4 separate regions of the Homo sapiens genome follow, and regions 1, 2 and 3 are each linked to region 4. Evidence: promoter capture Hi-C in 16 types of primary human blood cells and fetal thymus (Javierre and others, 2016). All regions are on one chromosome and are shown on one strand. The core of a region is centred on a gene start or on the middle of the fragment in contact, and the rest is flanking DNA. Distances in the headings are between cores, read along the strand shown.

Evidence for each region. The method cuts DNA at HindIII sites, captures the fragments that hold promoters and counts their contacts. A CHiCAGO score of 5 or more calls a contact.
Region 1: a fragment that was not itself captured here is called in contact with the fragment with the promoter of NOP10 in region 4 in 1 of 17 cell types (neutrophils); the score reaches 7.8 in neutrophils.
Region 2: a fragment that was not itself captured here is called in contact with the fragment with the promoter of NOP10 in region 4 in 1 of 17 cell types (neutrophils); the score reaches 6.1 in neutrophils.
Region 3: a contact is called between a fragment that was not itself captured here and the fragment with the promoter of NOP10 in region 4, in 6 of 17 cell types (neutrophils, naive CD4 T cells, fetal thymus and 3 more). The highest score is 9.8, in neutrophils.

Annotation. Positions count from the first base shown.
Region 1 is chr15:34,116,444-34,121,517 of GRCh38, forward strand. No RefSeq gene overlaps it. Among named protein-coding and RNA genes, the nearest start is that of PGBD4, 17 kb to the left of the region's middle. The HindIII fragment of the contact is 6,969 bases long and covers 1-4,761 here.
Region 2 is chr15:34,143,931-34,148,810 of GRCh38, forward strand. KATNBL1 (katanin regulatory subunit B1 like 1) reads right to left here. Exons shown (of 10, transcript NM_024713.3): 5 at 4,702-4,820; 6 at 3,450-3,500; 7 at 3,270-3,359; 8 at 2,831-2,920; 9 at 1,468-1,561. Among named protein-coding and RNA genes, the nearest start is that of PGBD4, 44 kb to the left of the region's middle. The HindIII fragment of the contact is 4,046 bases long and covers 1,450-4,880 here.
Region 3 is chr15:34,092,855-34,097,583 of GRCh38, forward strand. It overlaps EMC7 (ER membrane protein complex subunit 7), which reads right to left. Exons shown (of 5, transcript NM_020154.3): 2 at 3,041-3,160. Among named protein-coding and RNA genes, the nearest start is that of EMC7, 6.6 kb to the right of the region's middle. The HindIII fragment of the contact is 3,737 bases long and covers 835-4,571 here.
Region 4 is chr15:34,341,650-34,346,739 of GRCh38, forward strand. NOP10 (NOP10 ribonucleoprotein) reads right to left here and starts at 1,487. Exons shown (of 2, transcript NM_018648.4): 1 at 1,371-1,487; 2 at 70-459. The coding sequence starts at 1,424. The coding sequence ends at 319. It overlaps NUTM1 (NUT midline carcinoma family member 1), which reads left to right and starts at 1,666. Exons shown (of 8, transcript NM_001284292.2): 1 at 1,666-2,053; 2 at 4,293-4,386. The coding sequence starts at 2,048. RefSeq lists silencers at 1,230-1,339, 1,420-1,519. The HindIII fragment of the contact is 8,760 bases long and covers 1-5,090 here.

The sequences.
Region 1 (5,074 bases), core at 27-2,526, 230 kb before region 4:
CAACAATGCTATATCTTATGAGTTATTAAGGATGTAAATTTGGTATTCATGAGCTAAATTAGCAGAGTATGAGAGTTTACCACAGGGCTATGTCACAATTTTGGGGGGGTCCTAAGCACTTTTGCCTTTGTAGATCACTTTCCTCCATAAAAAAATTAAAAATTATATTTTATTGCTGCACTGAGATAAGGATAAATATACTACAGGCAGATTCATTATTGTATATTCACTATTGTTTCTTATTTTAAAAGGAATTAAGACATTTTTGTGGAGCCCTGAAAGTATCATTGGCGCTAGGCCCTGTATTTACTGTGCCTAATGGGAATGCTGGCCTTGGTTTGTTGAAGACTCTAATTCAGAATTCTACGGGTAAGACTGGCAGCCATACAATAGTTGGCAGATTGCTGAGCTCCCACAATTAATGGGCAGAGGCAGATGGTTGGAATTCCTATGATTTTCAGACAAGATGCTATCTGAAACTGGATCAGCAGTGTTGTTGTTAGTTGGTCATAATTTTCCATTGCTGCTTTTCTTGTTTGTTTTGTTTGTTGTTGTTTTTTGAAACAGAGTTTTGCTCCATTGCCCAGGCTGGAGTGCAGTGGCACGATCTCGGCTCACTGCAACCTCCGCCCCAAGGTTCAAGCGATTCTCCTGCCTCAGCCTCCAGAGTAGCTGGGATTACAAGCACACGCCACCACGCCTGGCTAATTTTTTATATTTTCAGTAGAGATGTGGTTTCGCCATGTTGGCCAGCCTGGTCTCGAACTCCTGACCTCAAGTGATCCGCCTGCTTCGGCCTCCCAAACTGCTGGGATTACAGGTGGGAGCCACCACACCCTGCCTCTTCTTGTTTTTTAATTATAAAAACCGTGTACTCTGTTAGTTTGTATGGTGTTAACCCTAGAAAGTTTAATGATACAAATGGATACATTTTTACCTATAATTTTCCCAAAGTTAGACTTTAACACAGGTACAATTGCAGTTTAAATATCAATCATTCAGTCCCTTGTTGCAAAAGCAGATGTATACATATATAATTTCCCACAGGGGTACTTTTTTAGTTGTCAGCTCATGTCTATAAATTCACAGTCTTCTCTTGTAAATACAAGTGACTCATATGTATGTTTCTTTTCTGTACTTTGTTTTAAACCTGAAGAATTAACTTGAATCTAGATGTCATCAATGAGGGTAGGAGACTAGGTAGAACCAGATGCTAAAGAAAGGGTGGCAAAATATCTTGGATAGATGGACTGAGAGTAACAAAAAGAGATCACTACAGTTTCAGAAAAGAAGATTCATGACAGGACCAAATCTGGAAGCCTCAAGGGAAACAGAGGAAAATGCTGGCCTGTCATTCTACCTCAGGAAAAAGGATATTGGAGAAGGGACGGTCTCCTGGGTGCATACCTCATAACTTTCATCATAAGTTATAATCAGACTGCAAATTCTCTTTATGCTAGTATATCATGTCATTTTCATCTGTGATTAGGGTTTTCAGTGCTCAACCTGGCTGGTCTATCTGAATGGTCATAGTAGGGTCTGGCTTTTCCTCTAATATTCAGACTTATACCCAAATATACCTACAGCAAGGAAGGCCTACCAGGAAAATGCCCCTTCCCAATACTCCCCTGACTTGTTATCTTAGTTACTGCCTGCATTTGACTCTAATTGAATGCAGAGCTTTGAAGGTTAAATGGCAATCATTTGGGCAGCTGGTTAGCAATGCATTCACTCTTCTTTTCTTAGGCTCTAAGTCAAGTTCTGGTCTGGAAAAGGGTGGTGAAAAAAGTGTACATACCTTGAGGAAGGAGCATTAGGAGTTCTCGGGTAGTGAGGACCCAAATGTTCTTTTTCTTTTTCTTTTTTTTTTTTTTTTGGAGATGGAGTCTCTCCCTGTCGCCCAGGCTGGAGTGCAGTGGTGCGATCACAGCTCACAGCAACCTCCACCTCCCGGGTTCAAGCGATTCTCCTGCCTCAGCCTCCTGAGTAGCTGGGACTACAGGCGCACGCCGCCACGCTTGGCCAATTTTTTAGTAGAGATAGGATTTCACGGTGTTGCCCAGGCTGGTCTCGAACTCCTGAGCTCAGGCAATCAGCCCGCCTTGGCCTCCCAAGGCATGAGCCACTGTGATCGGCCCAAATGTTCTTTTTCTTTCTAGCTTCAAAGGAGCAAGTGAATCACAGGAACCAGATGTACCATATATTTTTCATTTAGAAGATACCTATTAACAACCACAGGGTTTTTAGAAAGTTCTGAACAACTCAGAAACAAAGCAAACGACTTCTTAAACTTTAAATCTGGTTGCTACATGCTAATTATAATATAAATGGAACATTTAGAATGCTTTGACAGAATATAAGATCACATTCCTTTTTCTGTCATTTGAGCCTCTATATTTCAACACCCAAGAAAAAATGTCTCTATAAAGAATTACTAAAATTTATAAAGAAACAATATGAATCATGAATTTAGTTTAAGTGCCGTAATTTTTATTTTTTGAGATGGAGTCTGGCTCTGTCACCCAGGCCAGAGTGCAGTGGCATGATCTGGTCTCACTGCAACCTCTGCCTCCGTGTTCAAGTGATTTTCCTGCCTCAGCCTGCCAAGTAGCTGGGACTACAGGCGTGCACCCCCATGCCTGGCCACTTTTTGTATTTTTAGTAGAGACAGGTTTTCACCATGTTGGCCAGGCTGGTCTTGAACCCCTGACCTCAAGTGACCTGCCTGCCTCAGCCTCCCAAAGTGCTGGGATTACAGGCGTGAGCCACCGTGCCCAGCCCAAATCCTATAATTACATGTGCAACTGTACAGAAAATAGCCTGACAGATGACCTGGCCATGGAATAAACATAGCTTACATCAGATAGTGAGGGCATCCTGTGAACTTCCAGAAAACTGCAATCGAGTCATCTTCTTGAGTAAAGGTTTTGGCTGATTTGATAAGAAGTTCTGATAAGAAGGTTTAAAAAAGGACTAATGTATGGCAGCTCTAGAGAAATAGATTAAATCTTATTATAAGGAAGAGCTTTCTAAGTCAGACAGAATAGATCATTCCCAGGGCGTGGTCAGGAATTCCTGGCAGGAATAAGCCACTTAGCCACTTGGTGGAGATGCTGTAAAAGAGAATTCAAGTAACATATGGCTGTGCATGATCACTTTAATCTTGGGAGTTTGCGGTTCTTTATTTGGAGTCTGAACAGTTGTTTTAAACTGAGAGTTTATTAACAGTGGTTACGGAAAAACAACCATCATTTCTCACATGCCAAGTGAAAAAGATGAAACACATACAAAACAGAGTGCTAGCTGTTATCATTAATACACAATCTTTAAAAAAAAATTTTATTTTAATTTTTGTGGGTACATAGTAGGTATATATATTTATGGGTTATGTGAGATATTTTGATCCAGGCATGCAATGCATAATAATCACATCATGAAAAATGGGGTATCCATTCCTTCAAGCATTACCTTTGTGTTACAAACATTCCAATTATACTCTTTGTTTTGTTTTGTTTTTGAGACGGAGTCTCGCTCTGTTGCCCAGGCTGGAGTGCAGGGGTTATCTCAGCTCACTGCAACCTTGGCCTCCTGGATTCAAGCGATTCTCCTGCCTCAGCCTCCTGAGTAGCTGGGATTACAAGGCGCCCACCATCACACCTGGCTAATTTTTTTGTATTTTTAGTAGAGATGGGGTTTCACCATGTTGGCCAGGCTGGTCTCGAACTCCTGACCTCATGTGATCCACCCACCTCAGCCTCCCAAAGTGCTGGGATTATAGGCGTGAGCCACCGCGCCCGGCCACTCTTTGTTATTTTTAAATGTACAACTGAATTATTGATTATAGTCTCCATTTCGTGCTATCAAATACTATGTCTTATTCATTATTTCTATTTTTCTTTTGGTACCCATTAAACATTCCCATCACCCCCACAGTCCCTCATTGCCCTTCCCAGTCTCTAGTAACCGTCCTTCTTTTCTCCATGTCCATCAGTTCAATCGTGTTGAATTTTAGATCCCACAAGTAAGTGAGAACATGTGATGTTTGTCTTTCTGTGCCTGGCTTACTTCACTTAACATAATGACCTCCAGTTACATCCATGTTGTTGCAAATGACAGGATTCTTTTTATGGCTGAATAGTACTCCATTGTGTGTAAGTACCACATTTTCTTTATCCATTCATCTGTTGCTGGACACTTAAGTTGCTTCCAAATCTTGGTTATGATGAATAGAGCTGCAATAAACATGGGAGTGCAGATATCTCCTCAATATACTGATTTCCTTTCTTTGGGGTATATACCCAGTGGTGGGATTGCTGGGTCGTATGGTAGCTCTATTTTTAATTTTTTGAGGAACCTGCAAACTGTCCTCCATAGTGGTTGTATTAGTTTACATTCCTACCAACAGTTAGAAGAGTTCCCTTTTCTCTACATACACGTCAGCATTTGTTATTGCCTTTTGGATAAAAGCCATTTTAACTGGGGTGAGATTATTTCTCATTGTAGTTTTGATTTGCATTTCAGTCATCATCAGTGATGTTGAGCACTTTTTCACATGCCTGTTTGCCATTTGTATGTCTTCTTTTGAGAAATGTCTATTAAAATCTTTTGCCCAATCAGATTATTAAATTTTTTTCCCCATAGAGTTGTTTGAGCTCCTTTTATATTCTGGTTATTAATCCCTTTTCAGATGGGTAATTTGAAAATATTTTCTCCCAATCTCTAGGTTGTTCACTTTACTGATTGCTTCCTTTGCTGTGCAGAAGCTTTTTAACTTGATGTGATGCCATTTGTCCATTCCATTTTTGCTTTGGTTGCCGGTGCTTGTGGGGTATTACTAAAGAAATTTTTGCCCAGACCAATATCCGAAAGTTTCCCCAGTGTATTTTTTTTCCTTTTCCTTTTTTTTTTTTTTAGACAGGGTCTCACTCTGTCACCCAGGTTGGATTGCAGTGGTTTGATCTTGGCTCACTGCAACCTCCACCTCCTGGGCTCAAGCGATCCTCCCACCTCAGCCTCCTGAGTAGCTGGGACTACAGGGGCAAGCCACCACACCGAGCTAATTTTTTGAATTTTT
Region 2 (4,880 bases), core at 2,223-4,722, 200 kb before region 4:
CACTCCAGCCTGGGCGACAGAGCGAGATTCCATCTCAAAAAAAAAAAAAAAAAAAAAAGAATTCTATAGAGTAAAATCCCACACAGTGGTAACAAACTTGGTTGATATATCATTTTGCTTCTTTTTTTTGAAGGTATCTGAGAAATTTTTTTTTTTGGGAGAGGGGCCATGGTCTTCCATAGCAATGGCCAGAGCTCCTCTGTGGCTGTCACTTTGACAGGAGATAAGCTTCTGGTTGGTCACTGTTGGTATCACTCCCATTTGCTTTTCTTCCCTCAGCTACATTAATTCCCTGAAAGCTTCTGTCTCCTGTAAGAGCTGAACTTATCTTGGAGTAGAAGCCAGATTATCCCTCAAGGCTACCTAGGTTTGCCCAAGCCTCTGTTTCCCTTAGCATTGTATTTTTTTCCCCCTGAATTCTAAGAAGTTGTTTTGTCTCCGAGAAAAATGTTATAACTAAGTCCATGACATAAATCCTCTTATTTAGAAATATATATATATATATATTTTTAAAACCAAAGAATGCTTTTTATATTCCTGGCTAATGCCCATTTATGATAGCAGTATGCCCGGTAATAAAGTAAAAGTATTTCTTAATGACAATTTTTTCTTCAATTAATTTTTAACTACTAATGTTTTTTCTTTCTTTTTTTTTTTTGAGACGGAGTTTCACTCTGTTGCCCAAACTGGAGTGCAATGGCACGATCTCAGCTCACCACAACCTCCGCCTCCCAGGTTCAAGTGATTCTCCTGCCTCAGCCTCCCGAGTAGCTGGGATTACAGGCACGTGCCATCACACCCAGGTAATTTTTTGTATTTTTAGTAGAAACGGGGTTTCACCAACCAGGCTGGTCTCGAACTCCTGACCTCAGGTGATCTGCTTGCCTTGGCCTCCCTAAGTGCTAGGATTACAGGCGTAAGCCACTGTGCCCGGCCTAACTACCAATGTTTTCTGGAGTTTAAATATTAAAATTCAAACTAGCAATTTTTACTTTTTCCTTTACGAGACAAATCAATAAAGACCAAAGTCAAATTCACTGTGATTTAAATAGTTTACCTTCTCAAAAAGCATAACATTAGCAAAAGTAAAACTTAATCTCCAAAACCATTTAATTATGTTTCTTATCCCTTGTTTCCTGAGTTCCTCGTCTTGTTTTCTGATGCTGTCCTTATTGGATTCTCAAAATTTTTTCAAATACTTTTCTCTGATTAAAACCCTCTGTAAATATCCTCTAGCATAGCATTTCAGGGGCTGTACATGAAACATGTTCAATGGCCAATTCCTGTGCTTGCTGCCAAGGTCACAGTTACACGCAGAGGACCTGAAGCATTTGAAAATATGAAATTGACTTTAGACATTAGAACAGTACCATATTATTTTGCCTAGAGACTTGAAAATTAATTTATAAATGTAAAATATTATTTCTAATTTTTAATGTTTAATTTATAAGCTTAAATATAGATTACCTTAGCTATATTACCAGTATATCCTGGAACCAAAGTAAGATGGTTTTCCTGTTCCCATAATCCACTTAATTGTTGTTTTAAAATTTGAATATTTCTAAAAGAAAAAAAAGGAAGAAAAATGAGAAAGCAAATACATTAAGATACAAACTTTCATCATAAATATGCATAATAAAAACTGTTCTAAAATTTTTCAGGTATTTTTCAGGAGAAAATGATGCTATTTGAAATAAAACATTTGGGAACGTGGAGAGAAATTAAAAAAAAATCAAATAACTTTTAGAATAATACATGTCAGTCATGAAAATTAAAGGTTTATCCACATAATACCGCCAAATGCCTCCTATTTAATTAATTCTTGGAAACAACAAAGGATGTTTTTTCAATTCCAAAATTAATAAAATTTCTTACTTGATTTCAATTAAAAAAAAAAAGAAAATTAAAGGTTATTTAGTTGTCAAAGCAGGTAAGAAAATGACCAGGCGTTTGGAACATTTGGACATTCCTTGGTGTGAAGTAGAAAATTTTGAGAGCCTACAAAATAAATTGTGGCTTTTTTTTTTTTTTTTTTTGAGACAAGGGCTGGCTCTATTGCCCAGGCTGGAGTGCAGTGGTGCCATCTCGGCTTACTGCAACCTCCACCTCCTGGGCTCAAGCGATCCTCCTGCCTCAGCCTGAGTAGCTGGGACTACAGGCGCACACCACCATGCCTGGCTAATTTTTGTATTTTTTGTAGAGACGGGATGTCATCATGTTGCCCAGGCTGTCTCAAACTTGTGAGCTCAAGTGATTTGCCCTTCTTGGCCTCCCAAAGTGCTGGGATTACAGACAGGCATCAGCCACCGTGCCTGGCCCAAAATTATGGACTTTAAGGAAACTGTTGGGAGATATTTTTCTGTGGTTTCATGATAATCTGGCTATACTCTGGTAGAATACCCACGAATTTTCACATCAAGGCAGTAATAATACAGTTTTTAGAACTGTAAACATCAACACCGGACTCTCAGGTTAATGTCTAGGTAAAGGACCCCGCAGGGTGCCTCCATTCCTTATTACACTGTGGGCATCTCTTTTTCCTCCCTTACTCATAATGAATATGAGAATTAAACCACTATTGTGTTTTTCTTCTAAAATGAAGGGTAGGGTTGTGCCAGAAGAAGAGATACAGGAGGTTAGTAGGCTCTGGAATTCAATTTCCAGGTGTGGTTTTCACAAATGAACAGTCTCTTAAGTTAGTATCTCTCTGAATATAAAAAGAATAAATACCATACACTGATGATAATGGGATAAAATTATTACCTAGTTTAATCAAGCTGCTTTCCTGAAGAAAATTTCAGCATGAGTTTATCTTTAAAGGTATACTCACCCATCATTTATAATTTCTGTTTTGGATGATAGTTCTGACCACCACCTTTTAATGACTGCTTGAAGCCAGTTTAAACCAACTATAACATATCTGAAATGACATTTTGTTACAAAATTCAAGTGTTTTCATCTAAGAACCCTTCTTATAAAAGATGATACTTTCCCTCCCAAAAAACACACACACACATTGGTCCCTTCCCTTTTAAAAAATTGTTACCTTCATGATCTATTACACAAAAGTATATTTCATGTAATTTGTTTAGAGATGCTTTTATAATTGTCCTTTAGTCATTTCATATTCTTTTCCTAATTGTACTATTAGCTTCTTGAAAACAGAAACCTTGCATGTCTCATGGAGCCCAATCTACTATGTACTCACAAAGCACAAAATCAAGGATGCTGAAAAAGAAAAATGAATCAAGATTCAGATTAGCACTTACTCTTCAAATTTGCTTTTAAGTAGTGACTTTACTAGAGGCAACAAGTCAACACAGCAGCCAAGTGAGATATATTGTTTTTCTTCCTGTAAACTAAAATAAATACCAAGTTATAAAAATATGGATGGGCCATAATTTGACCTCCTTTAATCTTATTTTTTTTCTGAAAAATATTGTTTTTACCAATTGGTGAGCACAGGAAGGCAATCTACCACAACGCCAAGATCTTCTATCCTGAGAGTATAAAAAGAATAGCATTGCCTTAGAGAGCTGATTTCCTTATTTACTTTCATATTATGATTATTCACACCGCTTTTGAGAAATTCATTCATTTAACAATGTCAGTATCTACAATGAGTCATGTCTGTGGATACAGCAATGAACAAAGACACAGGGCTTGTATTCCAGTGTGTGAGCAACTGTGGGGGTTGGGGGGTGGGACAGAGACAGGCAATAAACAAATAACAAGACATAAGACATATAGAGCAGGTTGATATAAGTGCTATGGAGAAAAATAAAACAGGAAAGCGAGATAGGGAGTGGAGAAATAGGTATTTTAAAATAAGTTGGTCAAAGAAGGCTTCCCTAAGGTAACATCTGAGAGACTTGAATACAATGAGGAAAGTAATGCTTCAAATTCCCACTCAAAAGGGATGTTTACTTTTTATTTTTAGTAATTTTTTTTTTAAGAAACGGGTCTCATTCGGTTGCCCAGGCTGGAATGTAGTTGCATAATCACAGCTTACTGCAACCTCCAACTCCTGGGTTCAAAGTGATCTTCCCAAGTATCTGGGACCACAAGCACGTACCACTGTGCCTGGCTTATTATTTTTATTTTTTGTAGAGATGGAGTCTTGCTATGTTGCTCAGTCTCTCACTCCTGGGCTCAAGGGACTCTCTCACCTCAACCTTCCCAAATGCTGGGATTATAGGCAAGAACTGCCACACCTGGCCTCAAAAGGGATTTTTAGAAGGTTAGTTTTCCCATATCGTTATCTCTTAGTTTTATAGGTAAGAATGACAGTCAGGAAAGGTAACAGCTTTGTTCAATCTGATAAAACATTGTTTTCTGTATTTTGGTTACTCTTAGATGGGTGAGGAATGTAATTTAAGCCATACTGTCTCTACTGAAGCTACATATAGGCAGTTTAGAATAATGAAGAAGGTTCACCTGAGCTCAGGAGTTCGAGACCAGCCCGGGAAACATAAGACCTCATGTCTTCCAAAAAATTTTTTTAAAAAATAGCCAGGTGTGGTGATGTGCACCTGTACTCTCAGCTACTCAGGAGGCTGAGGTGGGAGGGCTGCTTGAACTCAGCAGGTTGAGGCTGCAGTGAGCCATGATTGTGCCACTGTACTCCAACTTGGATGACAAAGCAAGAACTTGTCTCAGAAAAAAAGTGATTGAACAAAGAGGATAAAAGGTCACACTTACCTCAACAAATAAGCTACAAGTTCACTTATACTTCTCTTTCTCCAGAAAGTTAAAGCTACATTCAATCTCATATTCCTGCTGAACAAAACTTGGGCCATTGTTTCATGGTCCTGAGAAACCTGAAAGGCAATAATCTGATTTGTTAAAAAGCACACTGAAACAGGGTATGAAACTATTTT
Region 3 (4,729 bases), core at 1,453-3,952, 250 kb before region 4:
ATAAGCCCATTATAGATTGAAAAATACTGTAAGTCAAAAATGCATTTAATACAGCTAACTCACAGAACAACATAGCCTAGCTTAGCCTACCTTAAAAGTGCTCAGAATACTTACATTAGCCAACAGTGGCAAAATCACCTAATACAAAGCCCACTTTATAATAAGAAACTTATTTAATTCATGTAACTTACTAAATTCTGTACTAAGCATAAAAAAAAGAATGGTTGTTATGGGTACTTAAAGTATGGTTTCTACTGTGTATCGCTTTCGCACCATGGTAAAGTCAAAAAATTCTAAGTTGAGGGCTGGGCACAGTGGCTCACACCTGTAATCCCAGTACTTTGGGAGGCCGAGGCAGGAGGATCATGATGTCAAGAGATCGAAACCATCCTGGCCAACATGGTGAGACCCTGCCTCTATTAAAAATGCAAAATTAGTTGGGAGTGGTGGCGCATGCCTGTAGTCCCAGCTACTCAGGAGGCTGAGGCAGGGGAATCGCTTGAACCCGGGAGGCGGAGGTTGCAGTGAGCCGAGATCACGCCACTGCACTCCAGCCTGGTGACAGAGCGAGACTGTCTCAAATTAAAAAAAAAAAAAAAATTATAAGTTGAACCATTGTAAGCTGGGGACCGTCTATATTTAAAACAATATTCCTATTTGCTAAGACTATTTTATTCAAAATTTAACCAGAGTAAAAAGGATTAAAAAAAAATACAAGTATTCCCTTTTGTGTAGCAGCTCTCATTCCGTCCAATATTGTGTTTTCAATATAAAAAAAATGTTTAAAGCAGTATATATAACATATACTGTGATCCACGTACCCCTCCATTTCCAAGCTTACAATTCTAAAATATACAAAAAGTCATGAATAAGTCCTTTAAGGCACAGATTTAATATAAAAGAACTTTACATATACACATATATGTATACACACACACACACACACACACACATATATATATATATATATTTTTTTTTTTTTTTTTTTTGAGACAGGATCTTGCTTTGTTGCCCAGGCTGGAGTGCAGTGGTACAGTCATGCCTATAATCCCAGCTACTTAGGAGGCTGAGGTGGGAAGATCACTAAAGGTCAATTTGAGGCTGTAGCGGGCTATGATTGCACCTGAGAAAAACCACTACACTCCAGCCTAGGCAACATAGCAAGATTTTGTCTCTCTACAAAGTAGGGGGGAAAAGTAATTTGTTTTTAAGAATATATTAGTGGCATTAGAGTATTACTTTCCTGATAATATCAAGAATATTCTCTTGGACAGGTGCAGTGGCTCACATCTGTAATCCCAGCACTTTGGGAGGCCAAAGTGGGCAGATCACTTGAGGTCAGGAGTTTGAGACCAGCCTGGCCAACATGGCGAAACCCCATCTCTACAAAAAAATAAAAAAATCAAGCCAGGTGCCGTGGCTCACACCTGTAATCCCAGGACTTTGGGAGGCGGGCAGATCACAAGGTCAGGAGTTCGAGACCAGCCTGGCCAATATGGTGAAATCCCGTCTCTACTAAAAATACAAAAATTAGCCGGGCGTTGGTGGTAGGTGCCTGTAGTCCCAGCTACTTAGGAGGCTGAGGCAGAAGAATTGCTTGAACCCAGGAGGCAGAGGTTGCAGTGAGCCGAAATCACACCACTGCATTCTAGCCTGGGTGACAGAGCGAGACTCCATCTCAAACAAACAAACAAAAAATCAGACAGGCATGGTGGCGTGCAGCTGTAATCCCAACTACTTGGGAGGCTGAGGTACGAGAATCCCTTGAACCTGGGAGGCAGAGGATGCAATGAGCCAAGATTGCGCCACTGCACTCTAGCTTGGGCAACAGAGCAAGACTTTGTCTCAAAAAAAAAAAGAATATTCTCTTGATAACTGTCTCTGTTTAGTATACATGCTAAAAGAAGAGAAAGAAATCACTGCTTGTCTATCAATAGGAGCCGGTTATATAAATGATGTCAAATCCACCAATGGACTAACACGCAGCTAAGATAAAGGATGGGACAACTCCATGTGTGACTCATTCTATTTGAATTATGGCATATTTACATATTACATTTTTAAAACTTTCAATGTCAAAGAAAGCAAAGAAAGAAGAAACAAATTACAAATTTTAGGAGTAAACACTAACTCAAATGTAAATAGTATGGTACTAACTGAACATGTGTCAGCTCAATTTTGAGTCTCTACAAGTCAGTCTAAATATGCTGCGCAGACACCAAAAAGATCAGTAGTAAAATTATTTATTAGTCCTCCACCTCCAGAAATTGTTTTTGCCTTTGCATGACCTGTGCTTTATTACTGCAACATAGTCATATTTGATAGCTTAAAGAAGAGACATTACCACTTAGGAGTTGCTTCATATATTTCCTGGTCAGATTTGACCAAAGAGGATGCTATTGCCATGAGACAACAAAATAAATAAATAAATGTGTTCTATTATAATGGGAAGCTGACTCTGAAGACTATAGATACTATACAAATGTTTCAACTTCAAATAGGTTTTGCTATTCCACACTCACAGTCTAAATTAGACTATAGTTCTTTTCACCTCAATTGTTTTCCCTAGAAATACTATATTTCCATTGAACATAAAAGATTCCATAAAGAAAGGACCACAGAAATTTCCAGATCAATGAAGTATCAAATAGGTAATAAGAGGTATTATCAAAATATCCCAGTGAAAAACAGGTGATGAATAGTATTTCTAATTTAGAAAAGTTAAATTATTTCCAACTTAATAATCATATTTCAATTATAACTTTCATAGCACTTTAGCTCCTATAGTAAGTAATCTTACCTTTTCTTTATGTAATCATATTAGGAGCTTTAAAATAAATTTTAAGCCAGAGCAAGAAGCTCAACTTTACAATTTTTTCAATGTTCAGATTAAATAAACGAGGATATTTTAAGTGTTTTAAGGAATAGCTGTAGTTTAAATAAAAAGAATTTTCCATCTAAACTATTAATTCTAAAAGGAATATATACTAAGGTATTCAGTAGCCTAGCTTTTGGCAAAAATTAAATCAGGTGCCCTCACCTCATTTTTCCTTTCGAAGTGATATCCACTCGAACGGGATCAAATCTGTAAGCTGGAGATACAACTTCCACTACATAAGATCCAGAAGGTATATCATGAACCACAAAACTCCCATCTGTCCTGGAAAAATGAAAATCATGTTTAGCTACTACTGATCAACAGCTTAGTCTTTTCTTACTTGCTAATTCCCAAATCAACTCTCCCGAAAAATGACATTAAAAGCAACGGGCAAACAAACAAACAAAACCTTGGCGAAAGTTGTCCTATGCTTCAGTTTCTTTTCTTTTTTCTTTTGAGACGGAGTCTCGCTGCGACGCTCAGGGTGGAGTGCAATGGCACGATCTCAGCTCGCTGCAACTTCCGCCTCCTGGGTTCGAGCGATTCTCCTGCCTCAGCCTCCCGAGTAGCTGGGATTACAGGCGTGCCCCATCATGCCCAGCTAATTTTTGTATTTTTAGTAGAGACGGGGTTTCACCATGTTGGCCAGGCTGGTCTCGAACTCCTGACCTCGGGTAATCCACCCGTCTCAGCCTCCCAAAGTGCTGGGATTACAGGCATGAGCCACTGTGCCGGCCTTCAGTGTCTATAATTACACTGAATAGGTTCTGAAAATACCCAAGACCACTCCAGGGTAGCAGAGAAGCCTGACATAGAAAGTAATTATTTTCCTTCTATGGGTAGAGATGACAGGTGACAGAAACACAATTCCCATTCTAAAGCCATGTCTTCATTGAATATACATTATTATTAAAATATTAGGGTTCCAATTTTGCCAGTCACCCCCAACAACTTCTTACTGTTAAAAATGGCAGGCCAGGCGTGGTGGCTGCCGCCTGTAATCCCAGCACTTTGGGAGGCCGAGGCAGACAGATCACCTGAGGTTGGGAGTTAGAGACCAGCCTGACCAACATGGAGAAACCCCATCTCTACTAAAAATACAAAATTAGCCAGGCGTGGTGGCGCATGCCTGTAATCCCAGCTACTCGGGAGACTGAGATAGGAGAATTGCTTTAACCCGGGAGGCAGAGGTTGCAGTGAGCTGTCCAGCCTGGGCAACCAGAGCAAAAACTCCATCTCCAACAAAAAAAAAAAAAGGCATTTTGTTCTAGTTTTAACTTGCAATTTTTGGTTTTCTGTTCTTCTTCTTTTTTTTTTTTGAGACGGAGTCTCACTCTGTTGCCCAGGCTGGAGTGCAGTGGCCCTATCTCGGCTCACTGCAAGCTCCGCCTCCTGCGTTCACGCCATTCTCCTTCCTCAGTCTCCCGAGTAGCTGGGACTACAGGCGCCCTCCATCACGCCCGGTTAATTTTTTGTATTTTTAGTAGAGACGGGGTTTCACCGTGTTAGCCAGAATGGTCTCAATCTCCTGACCTCGTGATCCGCCCGCCTCGGCCTCCCAAAGTGCTGGGATTACAGGCGTGAGCCACTGCGCCTGGCCGGTTTTCTGTTCTTTTTAACAAATAATAAAAGGTATTTAAGTACCATTTGTTCTATTTGCTATAAATAATTCCCATTTACTTTGGTTACTAGAAGCTTAAAATGTTTATGTAGTTAAAAACATCCATCTTTTCCTTACTGATTTCTTCTAAACTTCCTAGACTTAGAAAACCATCCTATCAAGAGCTGATAATTTCATTTCACAGATCAAAATTAATTTGTTTGAAAAATGAGAAACTACTATTCTGAGGG
Region 4 (5,090 bases), core at 237-2,736:
CCTTTATCATCTCCCTCCCTTTAAAAAAATACTGCCAATCCTTTCCTCCAACAACTCACAAAATAAGAGTTTTTCAAATCATTTTATCTTTAATAATCTTGTAGTAATTTAAAATATGAGAAAAAAAAGTCAAATGTGTTCCCTTTATGGGTGATGCCACCATGATTGCCTCACACAAGCATAATCAATCGCCACGAGAGACTGGATGCCAAAGAGTATGGCTGGCAAAAAGGCATCAGGGCTCACAGTCCGAAGAGTTTGGTTACGGAGTCTCCGAGGGGTAACAGGTGGCAGAAAAGACATCAGTTTAAGGGACCCTCAGAGGACAGGGCGCGGTTGCTGGGTCATGAGCACCTTGAAGCGTTTCTTGATGGTGATTCGGTGTCGAGAGTATTTGTCATCTGGGGAGAACCGAGCAGGATGGGCTGAGCAGGTCTGTTGTCCCATCGGGTCAAATTTCTGCTCCAGGAACACAGAATGTATGTCAGTACAGGAGTGATGAAATGGGGTGGGGCCAGCGCGAAAAAGGGCAAACATGAAAATAGAAGATGCAATGGTCAACTCAAAAAGTTGTACAAATAAATAGAGAAATATAAAATTTAAAAAGGCCGAGCGCGGTGGCTCACGCCTGTAATCCTGGCACTTTGGGAGGTCGAGGCGGGAGGATGGTTTGAGACCAGCCTGGGCAATATGGCGAAACCTCGTCTCTACAACAAACAAACAAACAAAACCAACCAACCAAACAAAAAACCCCAAAACCAAAAATTAGCCGGGTATGGTGGCGCACGCCTGTAGTCCCAACTACTCGGGAGGCTGAGGCAGAAGGATTGTTTGAGCCCAGGAGGCGGAGGTTGCAGTGAGCCGAGACCGCACCACCGCACTACAGCCTAGGCAACAAAGCGAGTCCCTGTCTTTAAAAAAAAAAAAAAAAAAAAAAAGGAAAAGTGAGTGCAATGGCGCTATCCCGGCTCACTGCAACCTCTGCCTCCCGGGTTTAAGCGATTCTCCTGTCTCAGCCTCCCGAGTAGCTGGGATAACAGGCGCACACCGCCATGCCCGGCTAATTTTTTGTATTTTAGTAGAAACGGAGTTTCACAGTGTTGCCCAGAATGGTCGCGAACTCCTGAGCTAAGGCAATCCACCCGCCTCGGCCTCCCAAAGTGCTAGGATTACAGGCGGGAGCCACTGCGCCCCGCCAGAATTTTTTCTTTTAATTAAAAAATGAGTCGCGCGGTCCCGGTTCTTCCCCACCTCGGTTCTGGACTTTCTGGTTCCCCGCACCCAGCTAGGTAACTCCACGTATGACCTCACCCACTCCTCCCATCTACATTTCTCGCCATGCCTATTTACACCCTGTTTTCTCTCCTCACCTTCAGCGTATAGACTCGATCTCCCTGCTCGTTGAGGTAATACTGGAGAAACATGATCGCTTATAAGCCAGCGGTCCCAATTCGGTCCACCGCTCAGTCTGCAGTGGTCCGCCCGACCGCGTCACGTGTTCGTCAATTTCCTTCCTGCATAACCGGAAGTCTCTCTCTCCTGGCACTCCGGAAAATGTAGTCAATTTTTGCCTTGTTTTCAGCTAGCCAGAAGGGGGCGCACGAGAGCAGGGCTTGGCTTGGGGCCCTACTTGCAACTTTGCAGGCTAAAACACGTGGAGTGTCCCTACTGTGTGCTAGGTACACGGCGTTAGAGGGGGGTAGGGATGGATGTGGATAGAATATTGACGTATAGAAGCCTGTCTTTGTCTCAAGATACACACCCATTTCAGGAGCAGTGAGTTTTCAATGCCTGAAGAAACAAGGGCTCCAGGATTCAGAGCCCCTTTACCCTAGGGAAGAAAGAAGAGGTTTTCTTCCCTCCCCTCTTTTACATCCAGTTCCCCTGCTCCATTTCAAAGCGTTGGCGGTAAAGAATGCATGTTGAGTATCAATATTCCGTAAAGCGAAAGAGCGTAAAGTTATTTTATGAAACTGGTGAAGCATGTTTCAGCGGTCGAACCAAGATTTAAAGTTAGGTCCCTACCGCAAATTCAGCGCTCTTTCTTATGGTGGTGAGTAGCTAATAATAACGTAATAAAGTGCACCTTCTAGGAGTTTTTACAATTTTTAAAAGAATATAGAAGTTCTCCTTATAAGACTCTCGTTTAAAGAAATGAAAATGAGAACCAAAATATCATTACAAAGATCATCGTTACGCCATTATTTACAATGACAAAAGCATTGGAATATATATTAACTGTGTAACCAGAAAAACCTGCACTTTTTTTTTTTTTTTTTTAAGAATATGGTTTGGCGGGGCGCGGTGGCTCACGCCTGTAATCCCAACACTGGGAGGCTGAGGCAGGCAGATCACAGGTCAAGGGTTCGAGACCAGCCTGGCCAATCTGGCGAAACCCCGTCTCTACTAAAAATACAGAAAAATTAGCCGGGCGTGGTGGTGGGCGCCTGTAGTCCCAGCTACTTCAGAGGCTGAGGCAGGAGAATCATTTGAGCCGGGGAGGCAGAGGTTGCAGCGAGCTGAGATAGCACCACTGCACTCCAGCCTGGGTCCGTCTTAAAGAAAAAAAAATATGGTTTGTGGCTGGGCGCGGTGGCTCACGCCTGTAATCCCAGCACTTTGGGAGGCTGAGACGGGTGGATCACAAGGTCAGGAGTTCGAGACCAGCCTGGCCAATATGGTGAAACCCCCAAAAATACAAAAATTAGCGGGGCGTGGTGGCGGGCACCTGTAGTCCCAGCTACTCGGGAGGCTGAGGCAGGAGAATCACTTGAACCCAGGAGGCGGAGGTTGCAGTGAGCCAAGATCACGCCACTGCACTCCAGCCTGGGCGACAGAGCGAGATCCTGTCTCAAAAAAAAAAAAAAAAAAAAAAGAATATGGTTTGTATTTACTTGTAGTTGCATAAAAAATCTCTGCAAGTATTCACAAGAAACAGATGATACTGGTTTCCTCTGGGATAGAGAACTTAGTTGCAGGAGAAAGGGGTAAGGGTTGGGAGGCAGACTTATTGCTATGTATTTTATTACGCAGTTTGATTTTTGAACCTTGCTAATGTATTTATTACCTGTTAAAAATTTTTTAAAGGCCGGGCACGGTGGCTCACGCCTAGTAATCCCAGCACTTTGGGAGGCTGAGGCGGGCGGATCATGAGGTCAGGAGATCGAGACTATCCTGGCTAACACAGTGAAACCCCGTCTCTACTAAAAATACAAAAAATTAGCCGGGCATGGTGGTGGGTGCCTGTAGTCCCAGCTACTCAGGAGGGTGAGGCAGGACAATGGCGTGAACCCGGAAGGCGGAGCTTGCAGTGAGCAGAGATCACGCCACTGCACTACAGCCTGGGTGACAGAGCGAGACTCTGTTTAAAAAAAAAAATTTAAATCTAAGTAGTTAATTTTGTTAGAAAGGAAAATGATGATTTTAGCCTTCAGGTCTTTAGAAAAGAGAAAAGATATCTCAGAGGAAGCAAGAAAGATGCCATGAACCCCAGGGAAGGCCTTTTGGGGGAAATCCACGTTTGGATGAAGCTGTGGCTGTAGAGGATGCTCTGGGAGTTACTGGCCTGAAATAGTCGCCAGGAACCTTAGCAGATAAATTTTATTTTTAAAGTTTAAACCAAAATAATTTAACAAAAAGAAGGACTTTCTACTCTTGAAATTTTAAACTGCATGGCAGCTTTTTTATTTAGTGAGGCTTTTCAGCAAAGGGTAAGGCGTCTGTGGAGTACAGAGCCTATGTTAGTAGATTGGACAGCTTTCCAAGGAAATGATGTGCACACAGCAATCGAGCACCTTGGATCATCTGACAATTCTAATTTTAAACTTTAGTTCCCTTGATCCTTACGTGTATAGACCAATGTACTCTGAATTTAGTTCAGAAAATATAGCCATCATTGAATTAAGTCAGGGGTCTACAGTCAACCTGCTGTTAATAGGAAGTCAGTTACAGAACTGGCTGGGATGGAAGGACACAAAATGAGATATGTTGGTGAAGAATCGAAGTGTAGTGAACCAAACGGTAAAACTGTAATGTGTTGGGAATCTGAGAAAAAGTTTACAAATAGCCCTAAAGAGGCAAACATCAATTGTGTTGCCAAACTGTAGTTTGAAGGGAATTCCTGGTTTTTTCATACTTACTAGAACCCTTCATGGAATATCTGTCCCCACCCTCACCCCACTTTTCCCTCTCCCCTCCCCCACAGCAGAATGCCTTGAGTTCCGTATTCTAGTTCTGTGTGATCTGATCTTTACCTTCCCTTCCTTGGATCCCTGTGCACCTACTGGAGCCAGGTTACTCTGGGTCCTGGACCTGACTGCCTCATTCTGGAGGCTTCCAGACAGCCACAGTTAGTGCCCAAACCTGAGAGGATGGCTTCAGATGGAGGTAAGTCTGCAGGTGGTGAGGAGGATTTCTGGTACCTGCTCATATCCTTTGAGACAAGCTCTCTGGGCTGACCTAAAGGAATGTGAGGTGCTACACCCCGTCAAAGGTATCACACTTGGGGAGGCTAGGGAAGGAGATTGTACCTTTAAGACTAGGGGCTGGGGAAGGAAGAGGACTTCCTTAAGGACAGATTAAGGTGTCTCTGAGGACACATGCTGAGTATAGAGAAAGGATGGCAATTAGCAACTTGATTCTCTTGAACAGGGGACACTTCCGCATGTGTTTTTGTGGTGGGAGAGAGGATCAGGGGTATGTGTCTTAGGACTGGCACAGAGAGGTTTCAAGGGGGAAGGCCCAAGTTCATCTGTCTTTTTTAGGCAACTGGAGCCTGTTCTAGGATTTTGCCATGCTTGAGCTTATGAGGGGAAGGGGATGTGGAGGATGGAGGATGGGAGGGTAAGGTGGGAAGGACCTTAGTGGGAAAAGATAATCTGTAGTTATCTGTTGCAGAGAAATGCCTTCCTGAAAACTAGGCTGGAATGTATTATAAACTGCCTCTGCTTGGGCCGGGTGCGGTGGCTCATGCCTGTAATCCCAGCACTTTAGGAGGTCGAGGCGGGTGGATTACCTGAGGTCAGGTTTTTGAGACCAGCCTGGCCAACATGGCGTAAACCCCGTATGTCCTAAAAATACAAAAATTAGCT